Regions from separate parts of the Homo sapiens genome. Here all the other regions are linked to region 3. Evidence: promoter capture Hi-C in human tissues and cell types (Jung and others, 2019). All regions are on one chromosome and are shown on one strand. Each heading gives the region's core, a stretch centred on a gene start or on the middle of the fragment in contact. The rest is flanking DNA. Distances are from core to core; before and after follow the strand shown.

Region 1 (2,968 bases), core at 247-2,746, 260 kb before region 3:
GCCACTCAACTCCAGCCTGGGCGACAGAGTGAGACTCCGTCTCAAAAAATAAATAAAATAAAAACAAAAACTGAACATTCATGATGATGAAAAATCAAAAGTAACCTACATGCCGTCCACAGGGGAAGGCAGCAGCCTGCAGCCAAGGGTGAGGTTGATCCCTGCTTGCAAAGGCAGACGGAGCTCCAAGGCCGACTATGGGAAAAGGGCGCCACAGAACAATTCGTGCGATGAAAAACCTCACGCGACGTTCCCTTTTCCTGTGGATAGATCTGCATCTATGCACAGGGCAGACAACTCCCAACACGGCCAGGGGTGATCCCTGTGCTTGCTAGAACTGGGGGTGGCAAAGACAACTTCAGATGTTCACGTAACTTTTTTTTTTTTTTTTGAGACGGAGTCTTGCTCTGTTGCCCAGGCTGGAATCCAGTGGCGCGATCTCGGTTCACTGAAACCTCCGCCTCCCGGGTTCAAGCAATTCTCCTGCCTCAGCCTCCCAAGTAGCTAGGATTATGGGCACGCACCACCACGCTCGGCTAATTTGTTTTTTTTTATTTTTATTTTTTCAGTAGAGACAGAGTTTCAACCATGTTGGCCAGGCTGGTCTCGAACTCCTGACCTCAGGTGATCCACCCGCCTCGGCCTCCCAAAGTGCTGGGATTACCGCCACCGGCCTTGTTCGTGTAATTTTGTATTTTCTCATGATGAATACATCCCAAACTCATTTTATTTTATTTTACTTTATTTTTTAAAGGCTGGAGACTGATGAAATGTCAGCAGTAGTTGCTTTGGTGTGGTGAACAATGCATGATTTTAATTTTTTTTTTCCTTTTTCTACTTTTCAAATACTCTACAACGAGCAGATCTCGAATGCCCAGCAAAAGCTAAGCTCCGCGAGGCGGCCCTGGAATGAGGCGACCCCGGAATGAGGCGGCCCCCGCGAGCGCCAGGCCCCCGCCCAGCGCTCACTTACTTGTCTGGGACGCCGGGTGCTCCTGGCTTCTCTGGAAGGGGTACCTGAACAGCAGCTTATTGCCCCTGCTCCCCGAGCTCACCAGAATCACGCTGATGGGGCTGGTGTTGTCCCGCATCCCGCCGTGGGGCCGGGGCCGGGGGCGGAGGGGGCCAGAGGAGGACGGAGCCGGAGGCGGAGGGGGCCTGAGGAGGACGGAGCCGGAGGCGGAGGGGGCCTGAGGAGGACGAGGCGGGGACGCAGGGGGCCTGAGGAGGGCAGGGGTGGAGGCGGAGGGGGCCTGAGGAGGGCAGGGGTGGAGGCGGAGGGGGCCTGAGGAGGGCAGGGGTGGAGGCGGAGGGGGCCTGAGGAGGGCAGGGGTGGAGGCGGAGGGGGCCTGAGTAGGGCAGGGGTGGAGGCGGAGGGGGCCTGAGGAGGGCAGGGGTGGAGGCGGAGGGGGCCTGAGGAGGACAGGGGTGGTGGTGGACGCGGAGCAGCGCCACAGTTACCAACCCACGTGCCACGCTCCGGGCTCGCGAGACTTCGGCGACACCGTCCGGAGGAGGTGCTAAGGCGGCGGCCGGGAGAACGGCGCAGGCGCAGGCGCAGGCGCAGGCAGCGGAATGCGCAGGCGCGGGGCCTTCTGGAAGCCACCGAGTTCCGCGGTGCTGTCTGGAGCCGTACGGTTCGCGTTTGGGGCACAGGGGCCCCTCTTGCTGGTGCGGATGGGAAAGGCGCGGGGTCGAGTCAGCGTCCCTCTCGATGTTGGTTTCTTCGTTTTACAAATAACACTTGGGCGGGGCGCGGTGGCTCACGCCTGTAATCCCAGCATTTTGGGAGGCCGAGGCGGGCGGATCACGAGGTCAGGAGATCGAGACCATCCTAGCTAACATAGTGAAACCCCATCTCTACTAAAAATTAGAAGAAATTATCCGGGCGTGGTGGCAGGCGCCCGTAATCCTAGAGGAGAATCGCTTGAACCCGGGAGGCGGAGGTTGCATTGAGCCAAGATCACGCCATTGCACTCCACCCTGGGCGACAGAGCGACGAGACCCCGTATCAAAAAAAAAAAAAAGAAAGAAAGAAAGAAAAAAGAAAAAAAAAAGGCCGGGCGCGGTGGCTCACGCCTGTAATCCCAGCACTTTGGGAGGCCGAGGCGGGTGAATCACGAGGTCAGGAGTTCGAGACCATCCTGGCCAACATGGTGAAACCCCGTCTCTACAAAAAAAAAAAAAAAAATTAGCCGGGCGTGGTGGCGGGCGCCTGTAATCCCAGCTACTCGGGAGGCTGAGACAGGAAAATCGCTTGAACCCGGGAGGCGGAGCTTGCGGTGAGCCGAGATTGCGCCACTGCACTACAGCCTAGGCGACAGAGCGAGACTCCGTCTCAAAAAAAAAAAAAAAAAAAAAAAACACTTGGAAGCCGACAGGAGATCTTTGAGACCTTGGGCGAGGCAGTGACACTAAAGGCAGGAGCGACTACAGAAGAATAAATTAAACTTCATCAGATTAAAAACTTTACTGCGGCCGGGCGCGGTGGCTCACGCCTGAAATCCCAGCACTTTGGGAGGCCGAGGTGGGCAGATCATGAGATCAGGAGATCTAGACCATCCTGGCCAACATGGTAAAACCCCGTCTCTCTACTAAAAATACAAAAATTAGCTGGGTTTGGCGGCGCCTGCTTCTAATCCCAGCTACTCGGGAGGCTGAGGCAGGAGAATCGCTTGAAGCCGGGAGGCGGAGGTTGCAGTGAGCCGAGATCGTGCCACTGAACTCTGGCCTGGCGACAGAGCGAGACTCCATCTCAAAACAAAACAAAAACTTCGGTGCTTTAAAGGACACCATCAAGAAAATTAAAAGTCCACCCACAGAACGGGAGAAAATATTTGTAAGTTACATATCTGATAAGGGAATTGTATCTAGAATGGAGGAAACTTACAACTCAACAATAAAAAGACAATTGAAAAATGCACAAAGGATATGAATATTTTTCCAGTGCATTATGCAAATGGCCAAT
Region 2 (3,044 bases), core at 98-2,597, 300 kb before region 3:
ATCCGTATGCGACAGGGAAGAAAGGGCAAGCGAGAGGTGGCCCCATGCACTGTGCTGTCACCATCTGGGTCAGAAAGGAGGGCCACTGGAAATAAAAGGTCTATTTTTTTTTTCTTTTTTCTGAGACAAGGTCTCACTGTTGCTCAGGCTGGAGTGCAGTGGCGCCATCTCCGCTCACTGCAGCCTTGATCTCCCAGGCTCAAGACAACCTCCCAAGTAACTGGGACTACAGACGTGCAACATCACGCCTGGGGTGATTTTTTTTTTTTTTTTTTTTTTTTTTTTTGTAGAGACAGGGTCTATGTTGCCTAGGCTGGTCTCAAACTCCTGGGCTCAAGCGATCCTCCCACCTTGGCTTTTCAAAGTGCTAGGATTACAGGCGTGAGCCACCGCACCCACCCAAGGCCTTTCTGTTTCTGTCCTATTTAGGATGCAGCTCAAAGTGGCTGTTGGGACACCACAGAATCAGAATACGGAGGCTCCTATTGTTTCAAATGTAGCTGTCTTTGCTCCATCTAGGAGCACAGTGAGGCCTTATGACATGTGCTGTGGCTCCCAGCACCAGTTTAGGTACTTGGAGTGCAGCAGGGAAGAAAATAACTTGGCTGCTCTGCACGCTGGGGGCTTCACTCAGCGGCATCTAGACAGACACATAATTGGCCGGGCGTGGCGGCTCACGCCTGTAATCCCAAAACCTGGGAGGCCGAGGCAGGCCGATCACTTGAGGTCAGGAGTTCGAGACCAGCCTGGCCAACATGGTGAAACCCTGTCTCTACTAAAAATACAAATATTAGGCCGGGTGCCGTGGCTCACACCTGTAATCCCAGCACTTTGGGAGGCTGAGATGGGCAGATCACCTGAGGTCAGAAGTTTGAGACCAGACTGACCAACAGGGAGAAACCCCGTCTCTATTAAAAGTACAAAATTAGCTGGGCGTGGTGGTGCATGCCTGTAATCCCAGCTACTTGGAAGGCTGAGGCAGGAAAATCACTTGAACCTGGGAGGTAGAGGCGGAGGCGGAGGTTGCACTGAGCTGAGATCGTGCCATTGCACTCCAGCCTGGGCAACAAAAGTGAAACTCCATCTCAAAAAAAAAAAAAAAAATTAGCCAGGTGTGGTGGCAGGTGCCTGTAATCCCAGCTACTTGGTAGGCTGAGGCAGGAGAATCACTTGAACCCAGGAGGCGGAGGTTGCAGTGAGCCGAGATCGCGCCATTGCACTCCAGCCTGGGTGACAGAGCAAGACCCTGTCTCAAAAAAAATTGAAATTAACGTTTAAAAAAAAAGACACCTAATTGTAATCAAATTGTATGGAGCATTAGAAACTGGAGAGAGTTATAGGGAAAGGAACAGGGGCTTGGAACACACCTCATGGAAAGCCAGGAACAAGTTCCAGCTATGGGTATGGAGAAATGAGGGCAGGAGGGTCACATGAAGGTTCTTCTAGTGACTTCCCAGCTTGGTCATCTCTGCTGCCCTCACCGTGTCAGCTGTCCTTGGAGCCGCAGTCATGTGGTCTGGTTTGTACACTGGCATGGGGCCCTCTCCTCTGGCAGAGACACGCCATGTTGGTTCCTCTAACTTCCACGTGGACTTTACTCCATTTTCCCAAGCATCAGCTCACCCACCTGCTGCTTTCTCCCTCAGAGCACTCTGCACTGAGGCTGGTGCTTCTTTATGAACTAACCCAGCTCCCTAGAGCGGTGACAAGTGCTGCCACCAGGAGTGCCCCAAAGGCCATGGCAGACCTGGGCAAATTCCCTGAACATGTCAGAGGGATGACTGCTCTGGAAAGGTGCCGGCCCAACCTCCAGCCTGTAAATCCCCCACAGTAAGAGGGTAAGCCAGGAGCTGCACTGAGGTCTGTTAACAAGGGGAAAGAGAAAGGTTTGTCACTGTTTTTAAGTCTGCAGCTTTAAGACAAGAGCCCTTAGCACAAGCAGGGTTTGGGCCCTGAAAGGTTTCCTGCCGAGCTTGCACTTCTATTTGCAAGGTGTTTAATGGTTTGGTCTGAAAACACTCTGGAGGAAAACACTGTCCTCCTCAAGACTTATCCAGCCCCTCACACAGCTCTGGGCCAGCCAAGAGGGCCCAGCCCAGTCTGTGACAGGAGATAGGTGCCCCAGCCAAAGCCCTGCATCCTGACAATGACTATGCAAAAGGGAATGGCTGGCTTCAAACACACTCTCGCCGTTCATCTCCAAGACAGAAATGTGCACAAGCTTAGTCTAGTCCCCTCAGCTTTTAGCATCTGAGAAAGCATCCATTCCTAACCTTAGAACTAGACAGGACCTGTGAAGCTATCCTGCAAACCTCTGCATCCTCTGGTCCCACGGATGGGCCTGGCTTCCTACCATAAGTAGTGGGATGCTGCATAACCCAAAAGATCTATGTGGGTTCCAAACAGCCTACCTTGAAATTTCAAACGAAAGTTTATATATAGGTGCATTTTTATGGAAATGGGTACTACAACTCAGGATATTCACAGAGGGTCCATGGGACCAACCCTGCTCTCGACAGTTTGCAGTGCAAGGCTCCGCACCAAGTACCACCTACCCAGCCAGACCCTGGACATCACTCCCCACCACAGGTCCTGTTAACTCGGAGAACCATTCAGCAAATCACTTCTTCACACTCCATGGAATCTACACTGCTGTTATTCCCACCCACACATTCCGTCGACCCCTAGCGGATGAGCTGTGCTCCTCCACAGGCTGAGTGTAGGGGCTGTGTTGCAGAAAGTGAAGAGACATCCCTGCCCTCCTGGGAGACACAATTCAATGGTCATATGAATGAGTGACATGCTGTCACTGAGGGCCACTGGGATCCACAGGGAGACACAAGTGCTAGGTATGGCACAAGTGTTGGGGTGGCCTCCTGAGCGATTCACATTCCCAGCCTATATTCACAGATGTTAGGTCCTGCAGGACAGGGCCACCAGGCTATTCAGCCACACCATAACCCTAGCTTTAATTAAAATAGCAACTGGGGACCGGACGTGGTGGCTCACGCCTGTAGTCCTAGCACTTTGGGAGGTCGAGGTTG
Region 3 (3,112 bases), core at 610-3,109:
GCGGGTCCACGAGGCTGTAAGAGGCCGAGGCCAGGCTGGAACCCGGTTTCCCAGCTCCACTGTTACTCCTTCCCTGTCTGCAGTCACAGGCTTGCTCCCCTAGACAGAGGGCAACGGGAGCAGCAGATGGTCCCTGGGATTCCTCAGGGTGCACATGAAGCCTGAGCCTCACATTGCTCCTGTCCTGGCACAGGAATGTCATCCACGCCAGCGACTCCGTGGAGGGGGCCCAGCGGGAGATCCAGCTGTGGTTCCAGAGCAGTGAGCTGGTGAGCTGGGCAGACGGGGGCCAGCACAGCAGCATCCACCCAGCCTGAGGCTCAAGCTGCCCTTACCACCCCATCCCCCACGCAGGACCAACTACCTCCGTCAGCAAGAACCCAAGCCCACATCCAAACCTGCCTGTCCCAAACCACTTACTTCCCTGTTCACCTCTGCCCCACCCCAGCCCAGAGGAGTTTGAGCCACCAACTTCAGTGCCTTTCTGTACCCCAAGCCAGCACAAGATTGGACCAATCCTTTTTGCACCAAAGTGCCGGACAACCTTTGTGGTGGGGGGGGGTCTTCACATTATCATAACCTCTCCTCTAAAGGGGAGGCATTAAAATTCACTGTGCCCAGCACATGGGTGGTACACTAATTATGACTTCCCCCAGCTCTGAGGTAGAAATGACGCCTTTATGCAAGTTGTAAGGAGTTGAACAGTAAAGAGGAAGTTTTGCACACCCAGTTCCATAACGTTGTTGGATGTATGAGCCAGGCAGGGGTCCAGAGACCACCAGCCTGCAATCCGGAGAACCCAAGCTAGGCGCGAGCCGGTGCTGTGATCCCGCCAAAGGAGAAGCTGCCTTCCCGGGGAAGGGGCAGAGAGGGGCCGGCGGGCTGAGGCCAACCAGCGCAGAAAGGGCCTGGCAGCCATTACTGTAGCGCTGGCGGCTCTGTCACGCCCCTGAAGCCGCTGGCCCGCGGGTGTGTTCAGCTCAGGAGCGGCCCTGCGTGTTTTTCCCCCGTGGCCGTCGCGGACCCCCGTCTTCCAACAGTGGTGCGGGCGGGGCGCCCCGTCCTGGGTTCGCGGCATAGCCCCGCCCGGGCCCCCACGCGGAACAGAAGTAACGGACCCTTTTTTTTTTGTTTTTGTTTTTGAAACGGAGTGTCGCTCTGTCGCCCAGGATAGAGTGCAGTGGCGCGATCTCGGCTCACTGCAACCTCCGCCTCCCGGGTTCAAGCGATTCTCCTGCCTCAGCCTCCCGAGTAGATGGAACTACAGGCACCCGCCACAATGCCCGGCTAATTTTTGTATTTTTAGTAAAGAGGGGGTTTCGCCATGTTGTCCAGGATGGTCTCGAACTCCTGACCTCGTGATCCGCCCGCCTCGGCCTCCCAAAGTGTTGGGATTACAGGCGTGAGCCACCGCGCCCGGCCCCGGACCCTTCTTTATTGGCCTCAAAACGGGTCATTTTGGGAAGCGGCGCGGGGCTGGCCGCGCTTCCCTGGGCCCCGGCCCTCCCCATGGTGTTTACGGGGAGGCGAACGGGGAGCCCAGAGGCTGCGAGCCTGGCCTGGACCCAGGAGCCAGGGGTATCCCACAAGTCCTGGAGGCTCTGAACGCGGCGCTGACGCCGAATACCTGTGAAAAAGACTCGGGGAGGAGACCCGCAGACCGCCGAGCTTCTGCCGCGGGAACCGCGCCCCCGGCCCCGCAATGCGCCTGCGCCTCGCGCGCCGACTTCCAGTCCCAGCAGGCCGCGGGCGGGGGCGGGGCCTCCGGGGAGAATTCGGGGGAGGGGCGGGGCCTCCGGGAAGCAATCAGGGCAGGGGCGGGGCGTCCGGGGAGTGGGGCGGGGCTCCCGGTTCCAGGCGAGTTCGCAGCTGCGCGCCGGGTCCTGGAGGCCGAGGCCGCTCCCGCCCGTTGTCCCCGCAGTCCCCGACGGGAGCGCCATGGCCCAGCCGCCGCCCGACGTGGAGGGGGACGACTGTCTCCCCGCGTACCGCCACCTCTTCTGCCCGGACCTGCTGCGGTGAGCGGGGCCTGGGAAGCGAGCGCAGCCTTGGTGCGGGGTCCGGTCCGCGGGCGCCGGCGCCCCCACGTGGTCCCCGAGGGCTCGCGTGTTAGGAAACCTGTCTTGCCTGGCTCCTTTCTTTCTTTTTTCTTTCTTTTTTTTTTTTTGAGACGGAATCTCGCTGTGTCGCCCAGGCTGGAGTGCAGTGGCACGATCTCCGCTCACTGCAAACTCTGCCTCCCGGGTTCAAGCGATTCTCCTGCCTCAGCCCGGCTAATTTTTATTTTTAGTAGAGAGGGGGTGTCACCGTGTTGGTCAGGCTCTTTTCGAACTCCTGACCTCAGGTGATCCACCCGCCTCGGCTTCCCAAAGTGCTGGGATTTACAGGCGTGAGCCACCGCGCCCGGCCCAACCTGGCCTCTTTCTTAACAGAAAATTTTAGGTTGAAATCATTTTTCCGGAAGACCCAGAAGGCCCAGGAATGCCAGGTTTTGCCCAGCAGCTCTTCATTTTCCTGCAAACGCCTTGGTGTTCACAAGAGAAGGCAGCCCGGGCAAAGGTCGATCCTCCCCGGTCACCTGCCCTCACTCGGCTAATGGGCGGATCCTTTTTTTTTTTTCCTTTTCTTTTTTTCAATTGGCAACATTTTCAAGTTTCTATTAAAATTTTGATCTTTTGCCAGGAGCAGTGGCTCACGCCTGTAATCCCAGCTCTTTGGGAGGCCGAAGCGGGTAGATCACCAGAGGTCAGGAGTTCGAGACCAGCCTGGCCAACATGGTGAAACCCCGTCTCTGCTAAAAATACAAAAAATTAGCCGGGTGTGGTGGCGCACACCTGTAATCCCAACTACTTGGGAGGCTGAGGCAGGAGAATCACTTGAACTCGGGAGGTGGAGGTTGCAGTGAGCCGAGATCGCACCATTGCACTGGGCAACAAGAGTGAAACTCCATCTCAAAAAAAGAAAACAAGTTTTAAATTATGTTCTCCAAGGACAGGTATTGACAATTCTCTCTGAGTGTTCTGCAGGAAAAAAAAAAAGTTTTTTTTCGAAACGGAGTCTCATTCTGGGTTGAAGCAATTCTCCTGCCTCAGCCTCCCAATTCTCCTGCTTC

What was found. Contacts are between HindIII fragments. The study calls those that stand out against the background at their distance.
Region 1: a contact is called between the fragment with the promoter of NPRL3 here and the fragment with the promoter of DECR2 in region 3, in 2 of the 25 tissues and cell types used here (dorsolateral prefrontal cortex and lymphoblastoid cells).
Region 2: a contact is called between a fragment that was not itself captured here and the fragment with the promoter of DECR2 in region 3, in 1 of the 25 tissues and cell types used here (dorsolateral prefrontal cortex).

The regions. Positions count from the first base shown.
Region 1 is chr16:137,177-140,144 of GRCh38, forward strand. NPRL3 (NPR3 like, GATOR1 complex subunit) reads right to left here and starts at 1,497. Exons shown (of 14, transcript NM_001077350.3): 1 at 1,466-1,497; 2 at 974-1,158. The coding sequence starts at 1,091. RefSeq lists a silencer at 927-1,156 and an enhancer at 1,377-1,426. The HindIII fragment of the contact is 17,392 bases long and covers 1-2,968 here.
Region 2 is chr16:103,040-106,083 of GRCh38, forward strand. All of the region lies in intron 7 of NPRL3 (NPR3 like, GATOR1 complex subunit), which reads right to left. Among named protein-coding and RNA genes, the nearest start is that of MPG, 26 kb to the left of the region's middle. The HindIII fragment of the contact is 7,021 bases long and covers 1-3,044 here.
Region 3 is chr16:400,026-403,137 of GRCh38, forward strand. DECR2 (2,4-dienoyl-CoA reductase 2) reads left to right here and starts at 1,860. Exons shown (of 9, transcript NM_020664.4): 1 at 1,860-2,018. The coding sequence starts at 1,939. It overlaps NME4 (NME/NM23 nucleoside diphosphate kinase 4), which reads left to right. Exons shown (of 5, transcript NM_005009.3): 5 at 194-729. The coding sequence ends at 317. RefSeq lists enhancers at 683-992, 840-1,425. The HindIII fragment of the contact is 11,138 bases long and covers 627-3,112 here.